Linked DNA regions of Homo sapiens: region 1 is linked to region 2. The links are contacts of gene promoters, found by promoter capture Hi-C in human tissues and cell types (Jung and others, 2019). All regions are on one chromosome and are shown on one strand. Each heading gives the region's core, a stretch centred on a gene start or on the middle of the fragment in contact. The rest is flanking DNA. Distances are from core to core; before and after follow the strand shown. Region 1 holds the start of LINC02230 (long intergenic non-protein coding RNA 2230). Region 2 holds the start of FOXD1 (forkhead box D1).

Region 1 (3,335 bases), core at 280-2,779, 110 kb after region 2:
TTTACAAAGCAAACAGAATGTTCCTTTTAACACACATCATGCTCAGTTTATTAATGCAGAAAACAATCCCAGGGGGCCGACCCAGGGGACCCTTGAAACCTGCCAGCACAAACTCTTCAAACGCTCAGCCCGTCAGATCCTCCAGGACAATATTTCACACAATGGAGTAAAAATAATATTTTTCTTTGGACCTTTCCAGCCGCTTTTGTGGCGAGCAGACAGAAATTATTTTCTTACTCTGCTCCCAGAGCAGAAATCTGGACGAAGCTGCGTTTATTTGTTTAACACAATGATTTCATCCTAAATGTCTCGACAGCAAATAGTTGGTGGTTTAATAAAGGGCCTTTGAAAGGAGGCTGGAGCTGGGGAAATGTGAGGCATGCAGCTCGCAGGGGCCAAGCAGATCGCGGGCTGCTGAGACTGGGTGCCCCCTCCGCCTGCCTGGGAGCCCTGGGGATCGTTGCATGTTATTGCTCCCTGATCAGAACAATTTGTGCCGCTTCCATCCTGGAAAAGGAAGGAGACTGACCTTTTGTTCACGAATCCCGGAACTTCCCCAAGACCAGCCCTGCCAAATACAGACAGACATAACCCAAAAGCAGATACTTGAACCTGCGTGAAGAAAATAGGCCTTTTGTACTTATGTCTGCCTTCCCATGATTAAAAATTATGTCCTGTGTCAGCCAAATGTTGGCTGCTATTCTGGTGCCAGCCCAGAGTTCTGCAGCCAGGGCAGTGATTAGGAGAAGGGAGAGGGATCAGAGCCAGCTCAGGCCTGATTCCCCAGCGAGCAGAACCTACCCAACCAGGGCCAAAGCCCCCAAGCTTTCCAACCTGCAGTTAGAGGTGTCAACAAAAACTCAAAAAACTCATTTGCATTTCACTTCTTTTCCTTGGGAAGAATTGTAAGGGGCAGTGAAACGGAACAAGCAGAACACAGAGGAAAAGAACCAAGAGAAGGTCATGAGTGGCGTAACAATTGCCCAGGCGGCCCCGATTGCAGCTCCATCATTTTACAGCACAGGAGGGAGGCCCAGAGAGGGGCAGTGATATGTCTGAGAGCACAGAGCTATTAGAAGAAGAGCCATTGCTGGAACCAGGCATCTAACCTCCAGGGTTGAAGGGGAAAGGGCCTAATCTAGCCTTACAGCTGACAAAACGAAAAAGCTGAATTATGGGTCTCATTTTTTCCAACTGGGACTTGGTTCAAGGTGATTGGATGTGATTCAGTTCTTGGTGATTTTGGTTCTTGGAATAATTGATTCAGATCTAAATCAGTTCCTGGCTAGAACAGTGAAGAACAGAATATGTTTACACACACACACACAGAGTTATATTTCCAATTATTCACTTATTCATTGAAGAGTGTATAAAAATGCATATATATTTAAAAGACAATTAAAATGACTTATAATAATATATTTCTGGTAACTTATTGATAGATCTCTGCTCAGTCTTTTCTCATTGCTTCTATATGTTTTTATTATATATATATATTTACAAAATTAAGATCTCAACTGCTTTATTTTTAAAATTACATAATTTGTGCTTAATCACTTTCCATATCATTAACAGACTTTCTGAAGTGTGACCTTTGAAATGCTACTTGGCATTTCATCATATGATGTGACTGTCATAATTCTTTTCCCCGTTACCCTAAAGTTGGTCATAGGACAGAATGTCTTTGAGTAAGTCTTGAAGAACAGTCCCTGAAAGACTGATGGGCTGGGTGGGAGGTGGCCTTCAAATTCTTGCAGCAATTTAAATCTCTTTCCTCCACCTCTGAGTGGCTTCAGATTGCTTTCAAATGTAGCTGCCTACCTCACTCCCAGCTCTCTTTTATCTTTTTCATTTCTTCTTTTTTCTACTTTTTTCCTAGACCCAAAACAGACAGATTCCTTACATTTGCATATTTTATAACCTCAAAAAGTTTTTATAGAAATGCACTCATTTAATCTTCATAAAAACCCTACAGCATGGGCAAGGCAGAATGATCCCAGTTTTATATAAAGGAAAAATGAAGCAGGCAAAAAATAAAGGAAAAAAGAATTATCTCAATTTTATATTCAATGAATGTATTTTGAGTGCCAACTATTTGCACTTTGGTAGTCACTTAAGGGAGGGCATAAGTAAGTCCATCCTTATCTCAAGGAATTTTCAGTCTAGTGGGGGCACTTTTAAGGGATTCAGTAGATGACGGCTGTTATTATTTTTGGCTGAAATGACTCGCCTTCTGTCAGGTGATTAGTAAGTGGCTCAGGAAAATGAACCAGTACATCCTCTGCTTTCTGTACTCTACTCCCTACACTATGTGACTGTTAGTCAAGGGTAGGTCCAGAATAGGGGGGATGGTCAGGGTAGGTGGATGATGGGGAACCTTTAGAATTCCCTCTTCTTCTTCATCTCAAGCTCCAGTGAAAAGACTTCACACTTGAGACGCTAAATTCTCCTGAGAGGAGTCAGTCCATGGATTAATGCTTTCTTTGTGCTGGAGGTAGAGATGACAGTATTTATCTTTTGATGAACAAATGGTTGTTTGGGATTTAGCTACTTCTACATCTGTGAAAGGATAAAAAACGAGAAAGGAAATAAAAATTATTAATCATCTCCCATGTACCTGTCTCTGTAGTAGGTGCTTTACATGCATTATTTCATTTAAATTGGAACTCACAAGAAGCCTGTTTTATTCATCATTGTATTACTTTGGACCTAGTGGAATGTTTGCCGCATAATAAGCATTGAATAAATGCTGAACTAATGAATGAATTCTCATTTCACAGATAAGAAAATTGAGGTCTGAGAACTTAGGCAACCAGTACCAGGTTACATAGCTAGTAAGTACTGGAATTGGGATTCAAACCCAGTCTGCCTGGCTCTAGAATTGTGCTTTTCCCACTGCTGCACCCTTGGTAAACTGTGTACATGCTTCAGGCTTTGGATGGACTGTTCAGTTATTATGGATGTGGTGAAAATCCAATTCATCGTGCACGGACTACCTTTGGGTCCATTGTTTCCTCTTTCTACAGTCCTGGCATTTTGCTATGAAGACAGCATTTACTGTTGTGTTTTTGCTGGTTGGCTGTCCTCCTCTAAGCACTGGACACATCTTCCTTATATCATCACTTGCACTGGGGCTCTGGATCCTTTAGAGTGGAGAGTATGTTGTTTTCAGCACTGCAAGAGATATTTTTACATTCTTTTCGGAAATGTGAAGAACTCTGGGCTGAGCACAGTGGCTCACACTTGTAATCCCAGCACTTTGGGAGGCTGAGGTGGGCAGATCACTTGAGGTCAGAAGTTCGAGACCAGCCTGGCCAACACGATAAAATTCGTCT
Region 2 (3,535 bases), core at 1,031-3,530:
TCCGTCTCTGCAGCGGTCCCTCTGGGCTGATCTTCCACTCTGACCTTCAGTAAGTCCTAAAACTTTCCCCGGAGTGGCCAGGAGATAATTCGCCACATTCTGCAAACGTTTCCAGGGAAGAGCCTCTTAACCCTTTGGGGGAAGAACTTGCGGACAAAGTTACAAACGAACGCAGTCTATCTCCCGCGCCATGAACGGAATGATGGCTGTAACCGGTCATCTAAAGTCATTAATGGTCTGCGAACAAATTCTTCCTCTCTGTTTCATCTTTGAATAACTTCGCCACACACCAACCCTCAGTGCTGCGAAAGTCATGGTGTTTATTTAGATATCGACTGAGTACTTATAAAACTTAAACTTTCCAATGTAAAAGTGAACTCCTTGGTAAGGACTCCTGGCTGCATCAACAAAGCAATGTGATGCCTGATTAATAGTGCTGATTAATGTTGGCTCAGGTTAATGCTCAGCCTATTACAGTAATTAAATTGTTCACCCATATATCAAACAAGAGTTAATGAAAAATAATTTATTTAGAACGTCGAGGCTTTCTCATAGATTGTTCAAAGACCTATGATAGCCTTTATGGGTCACTTGTAAGAGTAACTGGTGGTAGCAGTCCTCAGCAACAAAAACTCGATTTTAATAGAGGTCTTTAGATGGGGAAACAGTTTATTTCTGAGGCTCTGTGATTGACAGCGGTAGTAATGACACGTTTCAGAATGTGAAAAGTACTTGGTCGATAAAATGATATACACAAGGGCAGCTGATGGCTGTTCCTACAGAACGCCATTGAATTTTGATTCTTAGTTCTTGTCAAGGGGTCATTTTAATCAGAAAGTTAAACTTTTGGGACAAGCTCCCCTCTTTGAAATAGAAGCATTTTAGGAAATGCACAAATAAGTGAATGTGAATTCAACAAACTATTAGGATTTTTCCACTAGCCAAAATAGCTCGTTTGAGTTGGTGATAAAGATAGGTATATTTAAAAGAGCATCATATCTTAATTATTTCCACTATCTTGTCACCCGAAAAGAAAACTGAATTGAGCGGAACTTTAATCTCATAAAAAAAATTTTCATCTCACCAGAAAGGATTAACAATATTTAAGGATTTTCCAAAAACACATTTTTAAAAAGTTTATCTTAAAGTCATCTATCATTATAGTTTCTATTAATAAGCCTCAGTAGAAATATGTATATGTTATGTAATTTAAGTATTTTGAGATTACTATGCAAAGTGCTGACTAGAATGTTCCTCCTACTGAGAACTATATAGCCCCATTATGAACGAACTTCTGTTTTTTTTTTTTTTTTTTGAGGCGGAGTTTCGCTCTTGTTGCCCAGGCTGGAGTGCAGTGGCACGATCTCGGCTCACTGCAACCTCCGCATCCCGGGTCCAAGCGATTCTCCTGCCTCGGCCTCCCGAGTAGCTGGGATTACAGGCGCCGCCTACTAATTTTTTTCTATTTTTAGTAGAGACGGGGTTTCACCATGTTGGCCAGGCTGGTCGAACTTTTTAGTAGTTTCTAGGTGCAATTTTTGTGCGTGTATTTGGGTTTTCACTAAAAATTTCAATTTCTTCTCCGAATTCAATTATTACGTTCTTTATTCCCATGACATTTGTCAGATCGTCTCATTAGAGTGGCTTAGTTTAACTGTCAAGTCTCTAGGGCATTCAATCGCAGAGAAGTGAGTAAAACGCCAGTCTCACAGCGTTTTTATTAACAGATGGCGGAAAACAAACGTCTTTGGAGTAAAACCGAAGAGAATGGGTTAAAGGGTCAATAAACAATTATTATCGTGCTTAAATTGGGGGGCTTCGCATCAGATCCAATGGGGGGCCGCTCGCCCGATCTGGAGGGGCTGGACACCCCCAACCGACCCCAGAGCGTCCCCCAGGGGCCACCTCAGAGGATGGGGTGGTTATCCCCCGGCTGGAAGGCTCCTACAGGCTGTCGAGGGGTCAAACCAGAGTGTCGCGGGTGTGCTTCTGAGGTTAGGGTGGAGGACTAATTGAGGAGGCTGGGAAGTCTAACTCGTGCAGCGGCCCTCGGTGCAGACAGCCGCGTAATTCGGGCATCAGCCTCTTTGGCAAGAAATAGTGAGGTCCCCTCTCCTCCCCACTCTTCTCAGCTGCTGCCTCCCTCCTACGGGTGAATTTTCTCTCCCGAGAAGGGCTGATTTCCTAGGCTTGCTTTCCTTCCCTCGGCAGCGCTCTGACGTGCACACCATGTGACAGGCCCCCTTCTGCTATAAGCCGAGGAAGGTCCGCCCTCTCCTGGACTCAGCCCTGGCCTCGCCGAGCTCTGTTCTTAGACTCTCACCCGTCCCGCACGTTCCTGGGCGCCTGGCGTTCTGATTCGCCCGCCCGGGCCCCGCCACCCCCTCCTCAGCTGACGGGGCAAAAGCTGCTCCGAGAGGAGAAGGTCAAGTCCTCCGCCCGGGCCGGGCGCGAGCGGAGCCCAGGGAGCGCAGCATCCGCGCGGCTACCGCGGCGGCGCAGGAGTTATAAAGTCGGCGCGCGAGACTCCGCCGCCACCCGGCAGCCCCGGCGCAGCTCCGGCAGCCGCAGTCGCAGCGCCCCCAGCGTGGCGCCCCCCGGCCGGGCCTGCCGCCCGGGACCCGGGCTGGGGCGCAGAGGGAGCCCGGAGCCCGGCGCCCCCATGCGCCGCCCCGCCGCCGCCGCGCCACAGCTATGACCCTGAGCACTGAGATGTCCGATGCCTCTGGCCTCGCCGAGGAAACAGACATCGACGTGGTGGGGGAGGGCGAGGACGAAGAAGACGAGGAAGAGGAGGACGACGACGAGGGCGGCGGTGGCGGGCCCCGGCTGGCTGTCCCCGCGCAGCGGCGGCGGCGGCGGCGCTCGTACGCCGGGGAGGACGAGCTGGAGGATCTGGAGGAGGAGGAGGACGACGATGACATCCTGCTGGCCCCGCCTGCTGGGGGCTCCCCGGCGCCCCCGGGCCCGGCCCCGGCGGCGGGGGCAGGAGCCGGTGGGGGCGGCGGCGGCGGCGGCGCGGGCGGCGGCGGGAGCGCGGGTAGCGGCGCCAAGAACCCGCTGGTGAAGCCGCCCTACTCGTATATCGCGCTCATCACTATGGCCATCCTGCAGAGCCCCAAGAAGCGGCTGACGCTGAGCGAGATCTGTGAGTTCATCAGCGGCCGCTTCCCCTACTACCGGGAGAAGTTCCCCGCCTGGCAGAACAGCATCCGCCACAACCTCTCGCTCAACGACTGCTTCGTCAAGATCCCCCGCGAGCCCGGCAACCCGGGCAAGGGCAACTACTGGACGCTGGACCCGGAGTCCGCCGACATGTTCGACAACGGCAGCTTCCTGCGCCGGAGGAAGCGCTTCAAGCGGCAGCCGCTGCTCCCACCCAACGCCGCGGCCGCCGAGTCTCTGCTGCTGCGCGGCGCGGGAGCCGCAGGGGGCGCGGGCGACCCGGCAGCCGCCGCCGCGCTCTTCCCGCCCGCGCCCCCGCCGCCCCCGCATGCCTACGGCTACGGCCCCTACGGCTGCGGCTACGGCCTGC

The links. Contacts are between HindIII fragments. The study calls those that stand out against the background at their distance.
Region 1: a contact is called between a fragment that was not itself captured here and the fragment with the promoter of FOXD1 in region 2, in 2 of the 25 tissues and cell types used here (IMR-90 fibroblasts and mesenchymal stem cells).

The regions. Positions count from the first base shown.
Region 1 is chr5:73,335,455-73,338,789 of GRCh38, reverse strand. LINC02230 (long intergenic non-protein coding RNA 2230) reads right to left here and starts at 884. Exons shown (of 2, transcript NR_146627.1): 1 at 835-884; 2 at 25-507. The HindIII fragment of the contact is 3,119 bases long and covers 1-3,088 here.
Region 2 is chr5:73,447,522-73,451,056 of GRCh38, reverse strand. It overlaps FOXD1 (forkhead box D1), which reads left to right and starts at 2,280. Exons shown (of 1, transcript NM_004472.3): 1 at 2,280-3,535. The coding sequence starts at 2,695. The HindIII fragment of the contact is 13,220 bases long and covers 1-3,535 here.